Regions from separate parts of the Homo sapiens genome. Here all the other regions are linked to region 2. The links are contacts of gene promoters, found by promoter capture Hi-C in human tissues and cell types (Jung and others, 2019). All regions are on one chromosome and are shown on one strand. Each heading gives the region's core, a stretch centred on a gene start or on the middle of the fragment in contact. The rest is flanking DNA. Distances are from core to core; before and after follow the strand shown.

What was found. The method cuts DNA at HindIII sites, captures the fragments that hold promoters and counts their contacts. A contact is called where the count stands out against the background at its distance.
Region 1: a contact is called between a fragment that was not itself captured here and the fragment with the promoter of SLC19A1 in region 2, in 2 of the 25 tissues and cell types used here (dorsolateral prefrontal cortex and lymphoblastoid cells).
Region 3: a contact is called between the fragment with the promoter of COL6A1 here and the fragment with the promoter of SLC19A1 in region 2, in 2 of the 25 tissues and cell types used here (IMR-90 fibroblasts and mesenchymal stem cells).
Region 4: a contact is called between a fragment that was not itself captured here and the fragment with the promoter of SLC19A1 in region 2, in 1 of the 25 tissues and cell types used here (dorsolateral prefrontal cortex).
Region 5: a fragment that was not itself captured here is called in contact with the fragment with the promoter of SLC19A1 in region 2 in 5 of the 25 tissues and cell types used here (H1 embryonic stem cells, IMR-90 fibroblasts, dorsolateral prefrontal cortex and 2 more).
Region 6: a contact is called between a fragment that was not itself captured here and the fragment with the promoter of SLC19A1 in region 2, in 3 of the 25 tissues and cell types used here (H1 embryonic stem cells, aorta and lymphoblastoid cells).
Region 7: a fragment that was not itself captured here is called in contact with the fragment with the promoter of SLC19A1 in region 2 in 1 of the 25 tissues and cell types used here (lymphoblastoid cells).

Annotation. Positions count from the first base shown.
Region 1 is chr21:45,911,340-45,914,270 of GRCh38, reverse strand. PCBP3 (poly(rC) binding protein 3) reads right to left here. Exons shown (of 18, transcript NM_001384156.1): 12 at 246-320. Among named protein-coding and RNA genes, the nearest start is that of COL6A1, 69 kb to the left of the region's middle. The HindIII fragment of the contact is 6,282 bases long and covers 1-2,931 here.
Region 2 is chr21:45,541,075-45,544,369 of GRCh38, reverse strand. It overlaps SLC19A1 (solute carrier family 19 member 1), which reads left to right and starts at 1,930. Exons shown (of 6, transcript NM_194255.4): 1 at 1,930-2,002. RefSeq lists silencers at 1,657-1,736, 1,777-2,086, 2,437-2,496 and an enhancer at 1,290-1,802. The HindIII fragment of the contact is 13,138 bases long and covers 1-3,295 here.
Region 3 is chr21:45,980,286-45,983,260 of GRCh38, reverse strand. It overlaps COL6A1 (collagen type VI alpha 1 chain), which reads right to left and starts at 1,491. Exons shown (of 35, transcript NM_001848.3): 1 at 1,314-1,491; 2 at 498-627. The coding sequence starts at 1,410. LOC105372841 (a long non-coding RNA gene) reads right to left here. Exons shown (of 3, transcript XR_937803.3): 3 at 1,695-1,971. RefSeq lists enhancers at 10-870, 871-1,733. The HindIII fragment of the contact is 42,283 bases long and covers 1-2,975 here.
Region 4 is chr21:45,099,596-45,102,527 of GRCh38, reverse strand. All of the region lies in intron 1 of ADARB1 (adenosine deaminase RNA specific B1), which reads right to left. Among named protein-coding and RNA genes, the nearest start is that of ADARB1, 26 kb to the right of the region's middle. The HindIII fragment of the contact is 4,715 bases long and covers 1-2,932 here.
Region 5 is chr21:45,955,040-45,958,020 of GRCh38, reverse strand. No RefSeq gene overlaps it. Among named protein-coding and RNA genes, the nearest start is that of COL6A1, 25 kb to the left of the region's middle. The HindIII fragment of the contact is 8,613 bases long and covers 1-2,981 here.
Region 6 is chr21:45,138,477-45,141,654 of GRCh38, reverse strand. All of the region lies in intron 2 of ADARB1 (adenosine deaminase RNA specific B1), which reads right to left. Among named protein-coding and RNA genes, the nearest start is that of ADARB1, 65 kb to the right of the region's middle. RefSeq lists an enhancer at 2,687-2,981. The HindIII fragment of the contact is 3,019 bases long and covers 1-2,870 here.
Region 7 is chr21:45,116,957-45,120,083 of GRCh38, reverse strand. All of the region lies in intron 1 of ADARB1 (adenosine deaminase RNA specific B1), which reads right to left. Among named protein-coding and RNA genes, the nearest start is that of ADARB1, 44 kb to the right of the region's middle. The HindIII fragment of the contact is 3,865 bases long and covers 1-3,127 here.

The DNA.
Region 1 (2,931 bases), core at 259-2,758, 370 kb before region 2:
CTTCCTGCCCGGGTCAGGGAGGGAGAACATGATTCCGTGGGGCCGTCTCTGTGGGGGAATGCCGCTCTGAAGGCCCCCTGCGTCCGCCTGGTGCTGGGTGTAGGTGGAAGAGCTCTGCCTCCAGCACGGGTGGGAGACGTGCACGTGAGAAGGCGAGAAAACCTGAGTGCACTAACGGGCAGCGGCGGGTGCTGCAGTAAAAGGCTGAGGTTGGCAGTGGAGGCCGCGAGCGGATCGGCTCTTACCTGACCACCTGCAAAAATGACAGGGGTGGAGGCGGGCTTTGGGCGGTAGGGAATGGTGGCACCTTTCGGTGGGGACTAGGAAAAGGGACAGGAGAGGGAGAGAGAGCGTTAGAGCAGCTTCGCAGCCTGGCAATGGGGAGGCGTGCCCCGGCCCACCCCACTCAGCCCCCTGCACCAGCTCCACGCTCCCCACACCTCCCCGAGTTTCGCAGCAGTGCTGGGGGAGGGGAGTGAAGACCTCCAGCCCCCACACCCTCTGTGTGGCTGTCTTATGGCCTGTCCCTCCAGAGGGCTCCTTTTTGCTGAGCCCTGGGCTGCAGTTTGCCACACACCGGCCTCCTGAGAGTACCGCCTGCCCCGAACATCCCTGGGAGGCTCTGTGGCAGTGCGGAGAGTCAGTCCCATTGTGGGAGGCCAGCTGGGGTGGGTCCCTTGCCCACAAGACCCTGCTGGACAAGGGCTGGCCGCCAACCCAGACGGCCCCCTGCGGTGCTGGCCCCTCCACCGGGGCCCCTCCTGGGATGCGCAGGGCCCTGCAGGCCTGGCTGCACGGCTTCACAGGGAGCTGCCCCTTGGAGCAATTCTCTTGAATGTTCTGGAGAAAGTTGAGCCCTGTAGGACTCCACCGGGACCTATATCCAAAGCGCTTGGCTTGGCCCGTGGTGACAGTCAGCAGAGATCTCCACAGGAGACTTGGAAACATCTCACTTCACTATGTGAAAAAGCATGTTTAAAGTGCTTATAGACTCCAGAGGAAAAAATCCCATAGTTACGATGAGGTTTGCCTTAATTTCCCTTGGGTATTCTGTCGGAAACACAGGATTAACATTCTCCAGCGCCAGCATTTTTAGCCTGCCCTCCTTCTCCTGGGTGAGTCCCCTGTCTAACTGTCCCCAGGGCCCAGGTCAAGGAGGCAGAAGTCCTGGGCCTGGGGGGCACCACAGCTGGGGTTGGTCCAGCAGGAAGAGGTGGGGGCTGGAGCCCATGAGCCGTTCCTGGCAGGGGGCAGCCTGTCCTGCTGGGAGTTCTGGGGCCTTGGCTGACTCAGGGCCAGCCCAGCACTCAGGGAGCGCCACTCACACTCAAAGCCCCAAGATGGGGAGTGGGTGGCTGGATCCGCAGCGCCAGGGCCCTGGGGTGTGACCTCAAGTACTGTGGGGAAGGGGATGTGGGGCGGGTCTGGGCTGACTTGAGCTGGGCCTGGGGTGGGAGGAACTGACTGAGGTAGACGGGAGCCGCTGCTGCCCTCCCCGGCTCCTGGAGATGCCCAGCCTCGGGCCAGTGCCCCTGTGCTATGGGCCCTCGACCCCCACCCAGGCACAGGAGCTCCCAGCTGACCCTGACCTGTGATTCCCACTTCTTCTCTGGGCACAGGGCCTGCTGGCCTCCCCTGGGACTGCATGAGCCTCCCTGCACTGGGTACAGGGTGCTGGGCCCTGGGTGGGCAGGGCACCATCTGTGGCGATGTCTGTATTCTCAGCAGGCCCCACCCAGACTCATGGCACCCTGGGCAGCCCTTTCCTCCGTCATCTCCTGGGTGTGAGGTGAGGCATGCCCACTACCAAGCCCAGAAGTCCTCCAATCAACCAGGAGGGTCTTTAAGGCATCCTTGGCTTTATTTTTCCAGTCACTCTTCATCTGAGGGCGGACCCAGCTGTTTCCAGGTGTGATGAATCTTCCTCCCTGGGATGATGGCCCCTGGGACTTGGGATGCAGCACAGCCAGCGGGAGTGAGAGCAGCTGCCTGGCCATCTTCACTGGCCATGTCTGCTACGAGCTCCCTGTCTTGCTCAAACCTCCCTGCCCAGGAAGGAGATAGGGTGGTTCGGATGATGGCTCTGGGGGCATGGGCAGCCTTGGGGCAGCGGGTGCACCTGCATCTGTGGAGCTGCACCTGGCACTGCACCGGGACGCAGGCAGCAGAGGCACTGGGTGACGCTGACGAGACCCACGTGTTGTTGAGGAGCTGGACCTCGGCCCTCCATTAGGGATGTCCCTCCTAGAACTGTTCGTGTCACTGGCTGCTCCTGAGCCTCGGCCCGCAGGGCCTCCAGGGCCTGAGACTGGAGAGTTGAACAGATAGCTCAGACCAGCATGGCACTTTCGCCCTAACCAGGGAGTGGGGAAGATTTCAGAACAAGAATATTTTGAAAAATATTTTTCACTTCACAAAGTATCAAACTTCAGGGAAACAACAACTACGCAAACATTTTTTAAAGAGTCAAACATGGGGTTTGAACCCCAAGCCAAGTACGAGAGAGGAGTGAGCCTGGGCTGCAGGAGGGGCTGGAGGCTGACCCTGCAGAGCTGCTAGAACTTTCCATCTGGGGCGAGGCTTCTTCATTTTTGCTTCAGGAAAGACTGGCAACTGTTGATAGCTTCATGAATTTTGAGTATACTTCTGAGTTTTTTCCTCCCCCCGAAACTTCAAGAGAGGCGTCTGCTCTGAGCGGGTTCTTCTCTGCTTTTCCGTTTTAATGCTTTTGTTCACCCATCTCTACTTCTGCATGAGTTTTGTATGTTTTCCCGAGTTTTGACCTCTGTTCCTCCACGGTGGTTTGACGCCTCCTTCTGCAGAACTGCATGCGCAGAGGAGCCTCCTGCCTTTGCCTCCCTCCCACCCCCAGCTGCCCCCCAAGGCCTGACTCCAACGTAAAGAGCACTGTTTCTGCAGCTCCAACTCAGT
Region 2 (3,295 bases), core at 681-3,180:
GAGTCTCCTGGCTCTTCCCTCAGAGCAGCTGCCTCTAGATTACAACTGCCAAGTGCTGTTGGTGGCAGAAGCCCTACCTCCCCACTCCGAAGCAGCTCCTGCAGGAAACCTGGGCCTTGTGTGGCTGGGGAACTCCCAGGACTCCTGCCACGCAGGGGGACCCGAGGGCAGCTTGGGCAGGCCCCTCGCGGCCGGGGGCGGATTCGCTCGGCTACACCTGACCGGAGAGACAGGTGAGGGACTGGTCTTTGTGGGTCCTGCGGGGTCCCCTTGGGGCTGTGGCTCCCTGCCTTGCTGTCTCCAGGCGGGAAGGGGGTGGGAGCCATCCTTCTGTGGGAAGGGGTCTAGGAGCCCCGCTGCTGTTCATCCCCACTTCCCCTCGGCTTCCTGGCCTGTCCTGCGTGTAAAGGGAGCAGGCTGCCCTGGCGAGCTGGCCCCATGGCTGGCTCCTCTCTGCCTGGAGGGAAGGAAGGGCCCCTCCTCCTCCGCGTTGCCCCTCCTGTCTTCCAGCAGGGCCAGGTTCTGCCCACCCGTGGAGAAGGCCAGTACAGGGGAGAGAGCCAGGGCTCCCACAAAGCAGGGGGTCCCTCCAGGTGAGGCGCTCCATCCTGTAGTGTTCCCTTAAATTCTGCAAGCTACCCCAGATCCCCCATTTCCAGCCAACAAATCCTTTTTAAGTTCCTTTGAGATTTGTTCGTGTGGCTTGCTACACTCAGGACTCTGGAAAGAAGGCCCAGGCCAGAGCTTTGGGCAGGCGGCCATTTAGGGCAAGGGCCCTGTGTTGGCTTCCTGGTGGGGTTGCCCTGCTGGTGGGCGGGAGACCAAGAGCACCCCCGCAACACCAGGAGGCAGGTCGCGGATTGTGCTGTCTACACTCCGGAAGGGGTACATTCCAGGGGCTGCTGCCCCAGACTCACCCCTCGCCTGGGACCCGCACTCTTGAGCTGTGGGTACCACGGTGGCCGTCCCCTTCTGTTCTGTGCAGTGGACTTCCTGGCTCCTCCTTAGCCTTGGGGCCCCCACAGCCCTCGGCTTGGCTTCCCTCCCCATAGCCAGGCCCTGGGTAACTCCAGGGGAAAGTGACCCTGAGGCCCCCCACTTCTCCCCGTGTCCTGCACAGGCCTTGGGCTTTCGGCGGTGCTGTCTGCCGCAGCCCCACGCCTTCCTGGGAGAGTGGCCCAGGCCCCCCTTCCTGAGTGTGACTGCGCTGCCGTCTGCGAGGCCTGCGCGGGTCTCCCCCGGGCTGTCCCTGCTGGGATGGGGACTGGTGGCCCCGGGCCACGTCCTGGATCCGGCTTGCTCCTTGGTACAAGCCCGTACGGGTCACGGTCAGGCAGGAGGGCGGGCGGCGGGGTCCCGGGGGCGCCGAGTTCGGGGCCGTGCGGTCCCCAAGAGCAGGCTGTGCGTGTCCCTGTTGGAGCCCCACGAAGGCGGCCCAGGGCCACCCCTGAGGGCGCGTGGGCCCGACCCGCGTCCCGGATCCAGCTTGCGGCCAGGAATGCAGGTGTTCCAGGGTGCCAAAAGGAAAACGCACAAGGCCTCGTCGAGGAGGGGGGGTCAGGAGGGGACCGGGGGTGGGAAGAACGCGGGGGAGAGGGATGGCAGGGTGCCCGCCCGAGGGACCGACACCTCCGCGAGTGGCACCCCAGGATGCTGACGCCGGCGGGGGTGGGGGCCCGAGGGGCGGTCGGGGTCAGGGGGCGGCCCCAGGGGTAGGGCCGCAGCACGAGGGGCCGCGTGACCCCGGCGGTGACCGGGTGGGGAGAGGCCGGCGCCGGGGCTGGGAGACGGCCGTGGGTGGGAGGGTGCCCCGTGGGGACGCTCCTGCCGCAGCGCCCGGCCACGCGCGAGGCCCCGCCCTCAGGACGCGTTCGGCGGGACGGACCCGCCCACCCCGCAGCCGCGCGCCCGCCGCGCCGCCTTGTGGGCGCTGTAGTCCCGGAGTCCGCGTGCGCGGGGCCGGGTCCGGGAGCCCCAGGGCAGCCGCCCCGCCGAGTCGCAGGTACCGGTGGGGAACGGGGCCACGGGGCCGCGTGTCGGGGGCTGCGGGGTGTCTCGGGGCCCTGGGGTGAGTGCGGGGCGCGGGCCGAGGTTTGCAGGGCCCTGTGAGGTGAGTGTGGGGGCTGGCGCTGGGGTCCGCGGGGCCCTGGGGAGGGTGCGGGGCGTGGGCCGGGGTCTGCGGTCTGCAGCCTGGGGTCCGCGGGGCCCTGGGGAGGGTGCGGGGCGTGGGCCGGGGTCTGCGGTCTGCAGCCTGGGGTCTGGGGGGCCCTGGGGAGGGTGCGGGGCGTGGCCGGGGTCTGCGGTCTGCAGCCTGGGGTCTGGGGGGCCCTGGGGAGGGTGCGGGGCGTGGGCCGGGGTCTCCGCGGGGGTCGCGGTGGCCCGGGCGCCTGGCAGAACCGTTGCTGTGCAGCGGGTTTCCCGCCGCTCGCTTTCCGCCGCAGCCTGCGAATGGGGTGGGGAGTCCCGGCCCCCAGCCTGCCCTCCGCGTCATCCTGGGGCGCCAAGTCCCACCCCCGGGTCTGGAGGAAAGCGTGGATCCGGCGTTCGCGCCCAGGCACGTGTTGCTTCGGGACGGGCCAGCCGGTGGGTGAACCCTGCCAGCCACGCGTGGGGCGGGCCCCTGGCACATCTCCAGACCATTGTCTCCTGTGCCAGAAGCTTTGTAGGTGCAACTTCCCCTTGGAGCAGCTGTGGGTGCGGATCCAGCGGAGCAATCCCGAGGCGTCTCAGAGAGAGCCTGGACAGCCGCTGGAGCCTTTCCCGAGTGGGTCCTTCCAACACCGCTACAGCAGGAAAGCCATCCCCCTAGGGTCCTGTCCATCGGAAACTCCTGTCCTGGGGAGTCTGGCCTGCCTGGCCTCAGGACACAGGCCAACTAAGCTGGCCCCGAAATCCAGAATGCATCCAGAGGGAAGGTGGGATAAAGTCCTTGGAGGCGCCTGTTGGCCGCCCTGTAAAGAGGTGGCCTCCCCCTACGGAGACCCGAGGATCCCCGCACAGCCCAGATTCAATCAGCAGAGCCGAGGTGCCTCTGGCCCAGTGCACCTGCCTGCCCTGTCCAGGCCTGGGAGCCAGGCTGCATCTCACTGGCCGCCTTTGCCTGGGTGCCACCTGTGCACTGCTTGTTGCAATTGCTAATTGCTTTCTTTCCGAAGGGGCTTTGGTGGATTTTTATAATTCCAGATAGTACAGTTATCTCTGCTGGACACAGATGAGAAAGAGTGCTTCTCGGGTGTTTGGGCCTGCAGCAGTGATAGCCGGAGGGTCTAATTATGCTGTTAGGAACCCTGAACTT
Region 3 (2,975 bases), core at 242-2,741, 440 kb before region 2:
TGCAGAGCGACACCCCTCCTGGCTCCCGAGTCGGGGACCTTCAGAACGTGGGATCCAGGACCCAGGTAGAGGCTCTCACTGCCCACGGAACAAACCAGGGTCCAGGTGGTTAGTGAGGGGCTCCCGCGCACCAGGCAGGACTGCGTGTCTGGGCCAGTGCGCTGAGCCCTCTCGGTCAGCCTGCGGGAGCCTCTCTTCCCTACATCTCAGCCTCACTGTCACCTCGGCCCTGCTGAACAGGTGCCACCCCCGCGAGCAGGGTCTCAAACCAGCTCACTCTGGAAGGCGCTGGGAGAGGCTCAGACCAGCTCACTCTGGAGGGCGCCGGAAAGGGCCCCGGCCTCACTCTGGAGGGCGCCGGGAGGGGCCCCGGTCAGGGCAACGCTCGCCCAACCTTAGGAGGTTGAGGCCGTCGCACCCGTGTTCCCCTGGGCCCCCACCCCTCCCTCCAAGAGGCCCAGAAGCACAGGAGGAAGGTCACGGGGCGTCCCTCCTACCTGTCCCTCAGGTTGTCGATGAAGCGCTTGGTGAAGGACTTGACTTTGTCCACGAGGGCCCCGTAGGGCTTCAGCCTCAGGGCCACGCTCTCAGAGGTGTCCAGCACAAAGAACAGGTCCACGGGGCAGTCTGGCCGAAGATGGAGGAGAGGGGCCTTCAAGCTCTCGCCCCATTCCCCGAGTCTCTGCTGGGCCTGCCCTCCCGGCCAGCCCAGCGCCTGCAGCACAGAGCCCCGGGCCCGGAGAGGCTCTCCCGGGAAAAGGCAGCAGGACGTCCCTCGGTGGGGACGGTGGGGAGGGGGTGGAGTGAGAGACCCCAAACCGCTCCTGTGCCTCGAGGGGAGTCAGAAACCTTCACAACCTCCCCCGAAGGGCAGGGCGTCCCCGGCACGGGACCGGACAAGTGAGACCTCACGGGAAGGTTTCTCGCTGGATTCAGAACCAGCAGCGCACGACTTCTTCTAGAACGGGGGTCGGGGGGGCCGTGCGTCTGGACTCACTGCCAGGTGAGGGGTCAAACGGATTCACGGGGCGCCGAGACAGCCCCGCACCAGCTCCCCCTCGCCAGGGAGCCCCTCCCGAGCTGCCTGCGGTCCGGCCCCGCTGAGAATGCTGAATGCTGAGCCTCTAGGGGCCCCGGCCAAGGCCCGGTGGGGCAGAGCTGGGCGCTGCAGCCGCCCCGAGCGGGGAGTGGGGTTCAGGGGCTCCAGGCCCCCAGTCTGCAGTTCCACGCGTGGGAGGGGACCCCGCGCATCTGGCCCTGGCCGGCAGCAAAGAGCGGGGGGTCTGGAGCCTGCACCCCAAGCCACCACTCACCCTGGAAGGCCACGGCCCTCGGGGTCTCCGGCTCATCCTGCGCGGCTGTCCAGCAGGCCTGCAGCAGCAGGGGCAGCAGAGCACGGGCCGCCCTCATGTCTGGGGCCTGCGGTCACCACACAGCGCGGCCAGGGCAGAGTGGGCCGCCGCCGCCGCCCAGAGACCGAGGCTGCCTTCTGCTCCCAGCCAGAGTGAGAGCGGAGGGCAAGGAGGGGAGGGGCGGGGCGAGAGGGGCGGGAGGGGAGGGGAGGGGCGGGAGGGGAGGGGAGGGGCGGGGCGGGAGGAGAGGGGAGGGGAGGGGAGGGGCGGGAGGAGAGGGGAGGGGCGGGAGGGGAGGGGCGGGGCGGGAGGGGAGGGGCGGGGCGGGGCGGGGAGGAGCGGCCCATGAGTCACCACCTCCTTGCTGGGGTCTCTCCCTCCAGAACCGGCAGCAGCTCCGAGCCCAGGGAGAAGGCGGTTTCCCTGGCTGGCTCGCCGCGGCCTGCAGTTCAGTTCCCGTGTCAGGGAGGAGGAAACTGCAGCAGCTGAATCAAACGTCTGAAAACCAGCGTGTCACCCAGGGAGAGTTCCTTGAAACATCTTTCGGTAGTTTCCAATCCAGACGTCTCCATGCGGGACGCACGGGCAGGCTCACTCGCCTCTTCCCACCAACCGCCTCCTGCAGAGGACCTCGCCGTGAGCTGAATTGTTGCTTTATCAGATCTCCGCGTTCTTTTTTCACGTCAATATTTCTTCACAGTATAGTCGGATACGTATTTGCCAAAGATATTTCAGTTTGTACCGTGGGAAGACAAAGTTGCTCACAATATAGTTGTTATATATGCTGTGTGTGGAGACAGAGAGACAGAGACAGAGAGACAGAGAGAGACAGTGAGAGAGAGACAGAGAGACAGAGACAGAGAGACAGACAGAGACACAGACAGAGGAGAGACAGAGACAGAGAGAGAGACAGAGACAGAGAGAGACAGAGAGACAGAAAGACAGAGAGAGACACAGAGAGACAGAGGAGAGACAGAGACAGAGAGACAGAGACAGAGAGACACAGAGAGACAGAGAGACAGAGAGACAGAGACAGAGAGAGAGACAGTGAGAGACAGAGACAGAGAGACACAGAGACAGAGAGACAGAGAGAGACAGAGACAGTGAGAGAGAGACAGAAAGACAGAGACAGAGAGACAGACACAGAGAGACAGAGGAGAGACAGAGACAGACAGAGAGAGACAGAGACAGAGAGAGACAGAGAGACAGACAGAGAGAGACAGAGAGAGAGACAGAGACAGAGACACAGAGAGAGGAGAGACAGAGAGAGACAAAGACAGAGACAGAGAGACAGAGACAGAGAGAGACAGAGAGGAGAGACAGACAGAGACGGAGAGACAGAGACAGAGAGACAGAGACAGAGAGACAGAAAGAGAGACAGAGAGAGGAGAGAGGGGCTGTCCCTGATATCACCTGGGGGTGGGCTCCAGATGTGGCCAGATGCATCCCTGGCCCACAGAAGGTCCCAGAAGAGCTTTCCCAAAGCTGGAGCTGCTGAGACTTGCCTAACACCAGCCTAAATGTCTTATAATTTTAAAACGTACACAAATTGTTCATACCAAAAACCATGTTAAAGAAACATTTGAAAAAACCTTTAAAATTGATACTTAATTCCACAACTCC
Region 4 (2,932 bases), core at 262-2,761, 440 kb after region 2:
ACTTGTGTTATTTCCTGCCCAGTCCTAGAATCAGCTATTTCTCCAATAAAGAATGCTCACTCTATTTTTTATATGCTGTTTTATGGAACATGCAGCTACATGTTTAAAAAATATAGTTGTGGTTACAGCTGGTTTTGCTGACTTGAATCCATCCCCTTCTTTCTGACAACAGCACCCCAAATGTGCTGAGGAAAGTGCCTTCTCCCATTGAACTGCCTGCGTAATTACTTCCAAGAAATCAAAAATTATTTTAAACCCTTGTGCTGATAACAGACAGACACCAAGGTAAGGAAGATAATTATAGAAATTCTGATTTAGAATTAAAATAAGCACATTGGCCAGGCATGGTGGCTCACATCTGTAATCCCAGCAACTTGGGAGGCCGAAGAGGGAGGATCGCTTGACGCCAGGAGTTCAAGTCTAGCCTGGGCAACACAGCAAGACTCCGTCTCTACAAAAAATAAAAAAAGTTAGCTGGGTGTGGTAGTGCGCCTGTAGCCCCACAGTCCCAGCTACTCAGGAGGCTGAGGTGGGAGGATCACTTGAGCCTGGAAGTTGAGGCTGCAGTGAACCATGATTACCACTGCACTCCAGCCTGAGTAACAGAGTGAGACCCTGTCCCAAATAAATAAATAAGCACAAAATATGTTCACTTTAAAATAAACCATGTCTGGCAAAAGTATGTCCACCACTGTAACTACTGACCCCTTACACAATTTTAAGCAGCACTCATCTCCCACGTAATAGTCAGCAAGACTGGTGTGCTAACATACCCAGCATTCAAAAACTCCAAAAGCTTGTGTATTAAGTATACACTATCCAGAAAATTTCACATGCTTTCTGCTTCAGGAAAGAAATATTAAAGCTCTACGATGGTGAAGTTCATTACAATTTCCAAAAGCAAAAGGATCACTGATTACTTAAGAAGCAACGCTTCCTTTAAACTCCAGTACAGGAGGTAAATGTTAAACGCTAGCAAATCTTTTGAGAAGCATTAAAAAAGGTTTTCGTTACATCACAGGTATACTTAATCATAACGTCAAAGCCTCTAAAACAAAAACTCTGTGCACGCACTTCAGGAGTTTTTCCCACGTGCCGCGAAAGAAGGGAGCCTAGGTGTCTGGAGAGATCCTCTGCACCCAGCACTCGGCGACTGGCAGCGGGCATTTCAGCACCTGCTAAAGCCCGCTGGGCAGCTTGGCAGCGCCAGGCGCGGGGCTGCGGGGACACGGCCCGCCCGCGCGCAGGGCACAGCGAGCACGTGAGCGCAGAGCCAGCTCCGGAGCGCTACGGCGCGCGTGGCGGCACACCTGCTCCCCGAGGCTGATCGTTAACAGCCGTGGGCAGGGGTTGGGCCAGGGTACAGCTGTCAGGACCTCACTGGACAGGACCGGAGAGGACCCCGCGTAACCGCGGAACAGACACTCCCGGCAGCGGCCGCCGCCGCGGCACTGCTACGGGACGAGCCGGAGCGCTTGGCCATGGCGGCCCGATCCGCACTGGCGCTGCTGCTGCTGCTGCCAGTCCTGCTCCTGCCGGTGCAGAGCCGCTCAGAGCCCGAGACCACCGCGCCCACCCCTACCCCAATCCCGGGTGGCAACTCGTCAGTGAGCAGGCCCCTGCCCAGCATCGAGCTCCACGCCTGCGGCCCATACCCCAAACCAGGCCTGCTCATCCTGCTGGCCCCGCTGGCCCTGTGGCCCATTCTCCTGTAGGGACGCCCAGCCAGCCACCTCTAAGTCGCCGCTGGGACTGGCCTGCCCCATTGAGCAACAGAGACGCTTGACAGCCGCCCGCCTCCATTCCTTGACTTCACCCAGAAATGGGTCCAGAAAACTGAATCCCACCAGCACTGGTTTGGAGCAACCGGACACCGAGGTTTCACCTCCAGGGATTCCATGAAGAGCCTCAATGGAGATGCCACATCCTACTGAGTTAAAGATGGGCTGAGGAACTTGGGTACCCACAAGTCTGCCTTGGGAATCAAAAGAAAATATTTACCTTTAGTTTGGTTCATTAAATGCATGAAGTCAAAATATGACCAGGTAGTGTGCGAGGCCTCCTTGTTCTGGGTAGAGCTGGGAAGGGCAGGGATGGCAAGCGCTCCCTAAGTCTGCCACCTGTAGCCTTGCAGAGTTCTCTAGGAAATGCACTGCTGCTCTGGTGTTCAGTGCAATGCAGTATTTGACTTGGGAACAGTGACTGACGGGGGCCAGTGCAAGCCTAGTTAGTAAGCCCAGCCTGTCTACTCCACTCTCACCCACACATCCCCATTCTTCCAAAGAACCTTGTAGCTATCATTTCAACCTAGTTCCAAAGAGCAGACATACATAATCTCACATAACCTGCAATGCTGCTTTTTAAATTTCTGTATATGTTGAATAATTTTTACAAGTTAAAAGTGACCTTTTTAAACATATATTTTTAAATCTTTAACACGGGGGGAGAAAAAGGAAAGTTTTGGAAAGGGAAGACTAGAAGCTTGGCTGGTTCAGTTCACACAAGTTTTACACTATTTCTATCCATGTGTTATCTTTATAAATCCACATTTGGAATACTTCCCATATAAATATCTTTAGATAGAAACTGAGACTAAGCCTTGAGTAGCTTCTGGAAAGTAACCCCAACACCACCACCAAGTTGCACACACACCAATGTCCAGCATCTAGGAGGGCTTCAGGGCCCCCACAGCCCAAGACGTGCCAGCCCAAGAGAGCACTCCCAGAAACTCCAGATCCAGCCAGCCTCAGAACAGCATGTGAACACTTCACACGGGCTTACTGTGCATGTTTTGGATTGAGCCTTGTGTTCAGTAATTATGCTTGGATTTACATAACTTAAAATGACATATTTTAACATAAATTGTAAATTTTTATTTTTTATTTTTTTGAGACAGAGTCTCGCTCTGTCACCCAGGCTGGAGTGGTCCCCT
Region 5 (2,981 bases), core at 340-2,839, 410 kb before region 2:
TCTTTTCTTTTGTTTTTGTTTTTGGAGACAGGGTCTCACTCTGTCACCCAGGCTGGAGTGCAGTGGTGTGATTGCAGATGACTGCAGCTTGAATTCTTGGAGTCAATCAATACTCCCACCTCAGCCTCCCAAGTAGCTCGGGCTACAGGTATGCAACACCACGCCTGGCTAATGTTTGTATTTTTTGTAGAGATGGGCTCTCACTATGTTGCCCAGGCTGGTCTCCAACTCCTGAACTCAAGTGATCTGCCTGCCTCAGCCTCTCAAAGTGCTGGGATTACAGGAGTGAGCCACCGCCCAGCTGAAACCTCCATTTAAAGGGCATCTCTGTCTTTGCATTGGGAAAAGAAGGGGAACGAAGTCACTAGAAACTCTTACACTGGAGGCAGTGTTGGCTTGACTCTCCATAGCAAGCCTTACCTTTGTTTAGGTGTTTTTCTGTCCACCTTATCTTAACTGGGCCTTTTGGTTTTTCAAGGATGAAGTACTTTATTACTCACAGCAATATCAGTAGCCAGAATGTTGGCATTTTTTTCTAACAGAGTATCAGCATACTTTTCACACCAGTTTCCGAGCCCCGTTTCCCAAACAGTGACACAGAGTGGGCCCAGTGGCATCTGCACACACCGTGGACTGCACTGCAGGAGAGGAACCCTGAGCTCAGGGAACGTGAATCTTTTATAATGGACAGTAAGCATGCCTGCTCTTTGCTTTGGAGGGAGAAAACGTCTTTACCTTCAGGATTAGGGTGTAAGCAACCTGCCCTTTGATCTGGAAGGACATATTATCAAGGCTGTCACAAAACAACACCCTTGGAAAGATGGTCTAGAACAATCAGTGCCTCTGTCCATGAGATGAGCAGGAATGTCAGAGACAGAGAGTTGGGTCCCAGCCTCATCCAGTCCTCATTGCAAATCGTCTTGGCCACTGACACGTTTTCTTGTGAGTGTGCCACTTGATATGGTTTGGAGGTTTTGTCTCCTCCAAATCTCATGTGAAAATGTGTTTCACAGTGTTGCAGGTGGGCCCCGGGGGGAGGTATTGGATCACGGGGTGGATGTCTCATGAATAGCCTAGAGCCATCTTCTTGGCAATGAGCACGTTCTCACTCAGTTCCCATGAGAGCTGGTTGTTTAAAGGAGCCTGGCTCCTCTGCCCACTCTGTCCCTTGCTCCTGTTCTTGCCATGGGATGTGCCTGCTTCCATGGCCACTTTCTGCAATGACTATCACTTCCCAAGGCTTCCCCAGAAGCAGACACTGGGGCCATGCTTGTGTAGCCTACAAAACCGTGAGCCAAATAAACCTCTTTTCTTTATAAATTACCCAACCCCAGGTATTTCTTTATAGCAGTGCAAACAGCCTAACACACCTGTCCATCAGCCACTCTCATTACTCCCACTGACAGAGGCGATCTTTCCTTCATGGACCTTCTTGCTGTTTGTTTTACTGTTTTGCACCAAGCACACATGGGTGTGTTTGTGACATCATCCCTCTGCCCCTGACCTCCCCATTTAAGCGTTTGTAATTAAATTGCACCCACCTGGATAAGCCAGAGTTACCTCTTTATTTTCATGTCAACTGAGTAGAAACCTTAATTAATTGGCAACATTAATACCCCCTTGCTATGGAATATGATGTATTCATGGGTTCTGGGGTTTAGGATTTGCACATCTTTTGGGGGCCATGATTCTGCCTTCTACATAGATCACATCAGACAAAAAGCATCAAAGCTGTTCAAGACTTGACAACGCAGTCACCAGCTATTAGATCCACATAGAGCGGGTGGCAGGCAGAGAATACACTTCTACTCAAGCAGACGTGGAAGACTTACAAAAAGAGACCATTGGATTAGGTCATAAAAGATGCCTCAGTAAACCCCAAAGGATCCGTGTCATGGAGATTATGAATTCGTACCATGATGCAAAACATTTGGAAATGAATATTCAAAGGATACCTGAGAGAATCTCATGTGTTTGGATATTTAATAACATTTTACTAGTAACCTTTGGGTAAGTAGAACTCTTGAGGGAATGAAAAACCTCTTTAGAATTGAATAATAATGATAATACCGTATGTCAAAAGTCACAGGACACAGTTAAGAGTACCTAGAAATATACAGTCATAAATACATTTTCAATAGGACGGGCGTGGGGGCTCACACTTGTAATCCCAGGTGACTACAGGAGGCCGAGGTGGAGGATCGCTTGAGCCTAGGAATTGCAGACCAACCCGGGCAACAAAGCAAGACCCTGCTTCTACAATAAATGAAAAAATAAATTAGCTGGGTGTGGTGGTGCACGCTTGTAGAGAGTAAAAGTTTTCCTCTTCAAATTTCCCCTTCTTGTTAAAGAATACATCATAAGTGTTAGAAATAATAGTTTCTTTTAAAGACTTTCTTCAATTCTCCTTGCTTTGTGCTAATAACTCTTTGTTAAGCCCTATCCCATGTAATTGTTGGACATGCTCACAGACACGTTCCAGCTCACAGCCTATGCCCCTTCCTTATTTGGAAATGTTATTGCTTCCTTAGACCTTTCCTAATTACCTATTTAGGAAAGTTTCAGGTTATTAGCAAATCAGGTATCAGTTTAAGACTGTGAGGCCCAGCTCCAGCCAATGGATGCAGGACACAACAGTAAGGACGACCCAAATGCTTAAGGGTTAATTATGTCTGCCTTTCCTTTGCTTAGGTGACCTCTCGCGATCATTCCATCTGTGACTGAGCACCCTTTCTGCAGAAAGTAAAGATGGCCTTGCTGAGAGATCTTTTGTGTCTGTGCTGACTTTTCTTCGCGGCACCGATTATCTATTTCGAACAATTTTGGTATTTCTAACAGCACTTGTAGTCCCAGCTACTTAAGAGGCTGAGGTGGGAGGGTTGCTTGAGTCTAGGAGTTTGAGGCTTCAGTGAGCTATGACAGCACCACTGCACTCCAGCCTGGGGAACAGAGCAAGACCTTCTTTCAAAAAAAAAAAAAAA
Region 6 (3,178 bases), core at 112-2,611, 400 kb after region 2:
GGCTGGAGGGACCCACGGGTGGTGAAGGTGGCCCACAGGTAGCTCAGGTGGTACTATGCTAGCAGCAGAGGACAACTCAAACCTAGGGGGACTATCACCCTTGAAGGACAGCTCCATCCCCATTTACAGACTCTGGGAAACTTTTTAAATTCTTATGAGCTCTGAATATAAATTTGATACTAAACTGGAACATACATTGACAGGTATTTCTTTAAAGATTCTTAGGCATTATTTAAAAATAATGCTTTCTATAACTGGCTACTAAAAATAAAACAGAATGGCAATCCTTTGAAATATATTCTGTAAAACCACTACTACATATTTAGATCATGAGAGTATAGGCTAATTTTTTGCATTTTAACATAATTATTACCTATTTGGAATATTAAGCTTAAAACAATAGAATCATAAAATTATGTTACACAAAGACTACACAGCAAAGTCACAACTTTTTTTTTTGAGACAGGGTCTCGCTCTGTCGCCCAGGCTGGAGTGCATTGGCACAATCTTGGCTCATTGCCACCCGTCTCCTGGGATCAAGCAATTCTCCCACCTCAGCCTCTCGAGTAGCTGGGACTACAGGCATGTGCCACCATGCCTGGCTAATTTATTTTTACTTTTATTTTTTGTACAGACAGGGGTTCACCATGTTACCCAGACTGGTCTCAAACTCCTGGGCTTAAGCAATCCTCCTGTCTCAGCCTCCCAAAGTTCTAGGATTATAGGCTTGAGCACCACACCTGGCCACAATTTTTAGAATTGCAAAAGATGTACAAAACTTCTCATTCCATAACACAATCAGCCCCTTCCGCAGACTTAATTTATTATATCAAATTTATAAATTACTTGATAAAATTTTATTTACAATTCAGATCACTCACTGAATTAAACCAGCTATAAGTATTCCATCTCATTGCTTCACAGGTCCTCTAAATGGTAAAAATGAAGCCAGGGAACAGAAAGCTTTCTGAAGGAAACTGGCTTCTGGACGCACACTGGAATGCACACACACATACACTCACGCACACACACACAGATGGTGTAAAGACAAGAGGTTTGTCCTGGTGGCCACCGCTCAGAACGCCACTGAGCCTCCTCCACTGAGTCTTAGAAGCGGCCCTACAGCACCATCTGCTGTTCTGCAGAGGTCACTCAACGCTCCACACCACAGCAACCAAGCCAGGAGCCACCCAGAAGCTACAAGGCATGGGCTGCCAGGGGCGGACCTGTACCTCACAGCCTGGTCTAGGTGCTCTGCTGAATACAAACCATCTGATGGGACATCAACATCAGACAAGGTCGCCCTGGGCCCTGATGGGTAGGACATCTGCACGGGGTAAGAGGAAACTTTTTGGGGTAAGAATATTCTCTACCTCAGCTGCTTGGTGGTGTGGCACTGGCATACATTTGTCAGAATATATTAGAGTGCACACTTTAGAAGAATGATTTTTGGCTGGGTTGAGGTGGGTGGATCACCCGAGGTCAGGAGTTTGAGACTAGCCTGGCCAACATGGCAACACCCCATCTCTACTAAAAATACAAAATTAGCCGGGCATGGTGGCGGGCGCCTGTAATCCCAGCTACTAGGGAGGCTGAGGCAGGAGAATCGCTTGAGCCTGGAAGGCAGAGGTTGCAGTGAGTAGAGATCATGCCATTGCACTCCAGCCTGGGTGACAAGAGCGAAACTCTGTGTCAAAAAAAAAAAAAAAAAAAAAAAAAAAGAGTTTTATTGTCTGTACATTTTACCTCAGTAAATCCAATTTTAAAAAAATCAAGAGATCCCAGAAGAAAACAAATTCTATAAGAAAGGTAAGTCTCAATTTGAAATAAAATAGAAAATACACATATTTCAAGAAGAATGAATTAAATGGGTTCCAAGAAACAGAATGAATAAGCTGGAAAAGGCTGGCGATAGCATAAGAAAGGCAGTGGTCCCTCTCAACAAGAGAACACGGAGAGGCAGAAGTGCTGATGCTCAGGGCCCACGGGCGCACGCGGCCCCACACTACCACTCACCACGCTCGCTGCGCCCGACAGGCACCTTCCCTGCCCCACGTGACAGAGGAGGAAGCTGAGCATGGGAGTTGAGACACTTGCTCGACCGCTGGATCCAAACTCAACTCCATTCCCCACTCTGCTCTACCACTCCATGCCAGGCAAGAATATGGGAAAAAGAGAAAACGGAGCCAAAAAATCAAGGAAACCAGGAGAAAGAGAAAACGGAACCAAAAAAATCAAGGAAATCAGGAAAAAGAGAAAACAGAACCAAAAAATCAAGTATACCAAATCCAAGTATAAAGCAAATTAAACTGTGGCATGACTTTCAGCAATCGTCATAATAATATAAGTGCCATTTATGAATTTGGAACTTTGATTGAACCAAGGTTACAGAACAGAAGAAGTTTTCTACTTTGGTAACACAGAAGACAAACAAGGCTGGGAGCAGTGACTCACGCCTGTAATCCCAGCACAGTGGGAGGCTGAGATGGGTGGATCACCTGAGCCCAGGAGTTCAAGACCAGCCTGGGCAACACAGCAAAACCCCGTCTCTACAAAAACTACAAAAATTAGCCAGGCATGGTGGCATGCGCCTGTAGTCTCAGCTACTCAGGAGGCTGTGGCAGGTGAATCGCTTGAACCCGAGAGGCGGAGCTTGCAGTGAGCCAAGATTGTGCCACTGCACTCCAGCCTAGGCAACAGAGCGAGACTCTGTCTTAAAAAAAAAAAAAAAAGAAGACAACAAACTGACAGAGGTCAGACAAACTGACACCACCGAGGAGCTGAGGGCCAGATAAGTGCTTCTGCTGCCTTCCATGCAGGAAACTGAGAGGCCGCCCAGGGCCCACAGGCCACGAGCACATGGGCCACTCAGTCTCTAGGATGACCAGCAGGGGGCGTGGTTTCAGGCTTGGTAAGCTGATCCAGTGCTCGTCCTGAAGCCCTTTCCCCTACCCCTCTACCAAGGGTGCCACAAAAATGAAAGGCTCATTTTCTGTCTCTTTTGTGACTAAAGCTGGCCACAAAACACACTTCTTGCCAAGGAGAAAGACACAGTTCTGGTGAAAGACAGGTGAAAATATGCTGAGGGCTTCCACAATGTCTCTGACAAAAGGAATAGACAAGAGCTCCACGGCCTGCTCCTTCTCAGTTGTTCCTGCCTTAAACACAGAAGTGGTGT
Region 7 (3,127 bases), core at 181-2,680, 420 kb after region 2:
AAGATTTATAACCTAAACCTGAGGTGTTACTAGGCTTTATAGAGGTCTAGTTCAGTATCAAGAAGGGAGGCTCCTGTGCAGAGCTGCAAAGCTTGGTAATGCGCCCACGTGGGGGCCACAAAGTCCTCATCCTCAGAAACAGCATTTCGTGCGTTACCAATGACAGCTTTATTTATAATGGATTTCAATTACCAACACTCTTGCTTTTATCATTTCGATGTCCATTTTCTCATGTTCACAGCAGTTTAATGTGGGCTGTCTGGGTATATACCACGATGACAATTCATAGTTTCAGGAGCCATGATTTTTCAACAACTTATAAGTACCCTAAGTCATCTCCGTCTTTATTTCGAAACAGATGTATAGAACCTCCTCTAAATTCTGATGCAGCAGTAACATTTTATTTGTTGGTGATGTGCTGATTAAGAGTATATGAAATTTAACTAACTTGCAACACACCATCAAGGCAAGTGTAACAAAGTTACCCAGCTATTTTTAAGTTTATGGCCACACTCTTACATAGTAAAGAACAACACGTCTCATAAGAACTTCTGTATCAAAAGTACCTAAACTGGTTCATTTAATTTCATCCCGATTCTTTGATAATGTTGAGTGATATTTCCACTGGAGAGCAAGAACAGCTACTGGTAAAGGTGACCAAGGCACTAATTTTGCCACTGAGAGTGATCTAAAAAGGCTTTTAGGCTAGGCACAGTGGTGTGCTCAGCACTTTGGGAGGCCAAGGTGGGAGGATGGCTTGAGCCTAGGAGTTCGAGACCAGTCTGGGCAACACGGCAAGACCCCACCTCTACAAAAAATTTAAAAATTAATCAGTCAATGTGGCACGTGACTGTGGTCCAAGCTACTCAAGAGGCTGATAACAGGAGTATTGCTTGAGCCCAGAAGGTGGAGGCTGCAGTGAGCCACGATCACACTACTGCACTTCACCCTGGGTGACAGAGCGAGACCCTGCCTCTAAATTAATTAATTAAAAGGGCTTTTAATTAAAAATGGTGATAAAGTACACCATATCTTCTCTCCATTCTTCCCAGAGCTCTGTTAAAATGTCAGAAAAGGTACTTTTTGGTGGTGAATGAACCATAATAGTGCACGGTGCTAAAAATTTACAGAGGGATTTAGCAGAACACAAGAAAGCCTGCCAGGGCTTTTAGGGCATAAGGCAGACGAAAGCAGGTTGATGCGAGAGAGCAGAGGAAACTGCAGAGCAAGACAACAGAGGTGAGGGGTCTTCCCAAGAAGCAGGAGCCATAGGGAACGCTTTTATTCCTGGGCTGAAACCTGAGAATCGCTCTCCAAAGAAAGCCTGAGGTTTTCTAAGGGGTGATCCCAATATGGGCACGCGGGCTGGAAGAGAAGCAGATCCGGGTTTAGGGTAACGAAAAATCAAACCGTCAGGACATGAAGCCCAGGGAGGGAGAGAAGGAGAGAGTAGAAGATGTTTACCTGCAGTAGAACAAGGATCAAACGGATATCCAACTTCTCATTACCAACACTAGACTCTGGAAAATAATAGAGAATATTTTCTGATTTCAAAAGGAAAATTATACGATCCTAGAATTCTAGACCCTACCAAATTATCAATAAGTATGAGAACAAAGTAATTGCATGTTTGAACATTACGTGCAAAAACCCAAGAAGTCTGTCAGCCATCCATTCTATAAGGAAGTGAATTAAGAAGTCTGTCAGCCATCCATTCTATAAGGAAGTGAATTAAGAAGTCTGTCAGCCATCCATTCTATAAGGAAGTGGATTAAGGAGGTGCTCCAGCAAAACAAAAATAGAATCCAAGAAACCAACACCATGGGATAGGAGAAACCATGGCAACTGAGGCAGCTAGAAACAGCGGACACCTAAAGAGAAACTGGGAGTTCCATCTGAATATTCTCCTTTTATTGGCAAAGGTTTGGTGAGGCAGAATTACATTTCATACCACTTGGTTCTATGGCAAAATATACTATCATAATACTATAAATGTTACTTTTCTTATATTAAAATGTTTAGACTACACTTGCAGGAAAAGCACAGGGAGCCTAATGATAGATGGGAAACACTACAAATGTTTTAAGCCTTGTCAATATAAATCTCATCAAAACTCAGAGTGTGAAGGCACTGTTGACTTCCACATGAACTCACAAACAGAAAAGTTAAAGCTATAATGGTGACTACAAGAAGAACTTAAGAGAAGAAAACACAAACTGTACATTGTTTACCTCTGGAAACGGGGCATGGGGTGGGGAGGGAGAAAGAGGAAATCTCCAACTTAATTTATACCCATTCATGAGCTGCAATGTGTTTTTTACCATGTGCTGGTATTACTTCCATTTTTTAAAATAGTTACATTAAAAGGGCCCCCTTATCAATAGCTGATCCATTAAATAACTGCAGTACATCTATAGGACAGAATAATATGTTCTTGTAACAAGTGAAGTAGCATGAGCATTGCGTTAGTTATATAAAGTCAGAATTTTAAAGAAGCTTTTTTTTTTTTAACTGTGAAAGAACAAAGATAAAGTGTCACAGTCCTACGAAGAGAACGGCACTACCTGTACTGACATGCAGGATGTGACGGGACAGCTGCGTTATAGAGAGATGTGCACAGAAAACCCCTGTGTATCTCAGAAATCCCATATACATAACAGAAACTCCTCATCTATTATATATGCCAGAATCCAGTGCTGACACAAACTAGTGGGTACGTACCCTTCCATATTTTTCCTATGTACACACACACAACATTTTGTAAGCCTAAAAAGCTGGCACAAAAAGCAAACCAACTTCACAAGGACAAGCCAGAGAGTCCTTGGGGGATGTCCTCCCAGGAAACTCAAAACAGCAGCGGCTAGGTCTCCCTGGAGAAGGAGGCTGGGAAGAGCATCTGATAGAACTGCTCCCTTCATCCTTCGAGGGAGCAATCCAGGAAATGCAAGGCTGTCTACTTCACATGGTTTCCTGAGGATATGGGTAGAAAACATTTCCAGTAAAAGCTTTACTAAAATGTTATACAGTGAAAATTAAAATACAAACCATTCCTCCATGCGCCAGTGTCATCTGCTAATTTGTACAACATCTTGTTTCAATGACCTGAGAGGCCTACACAAATAGGTAG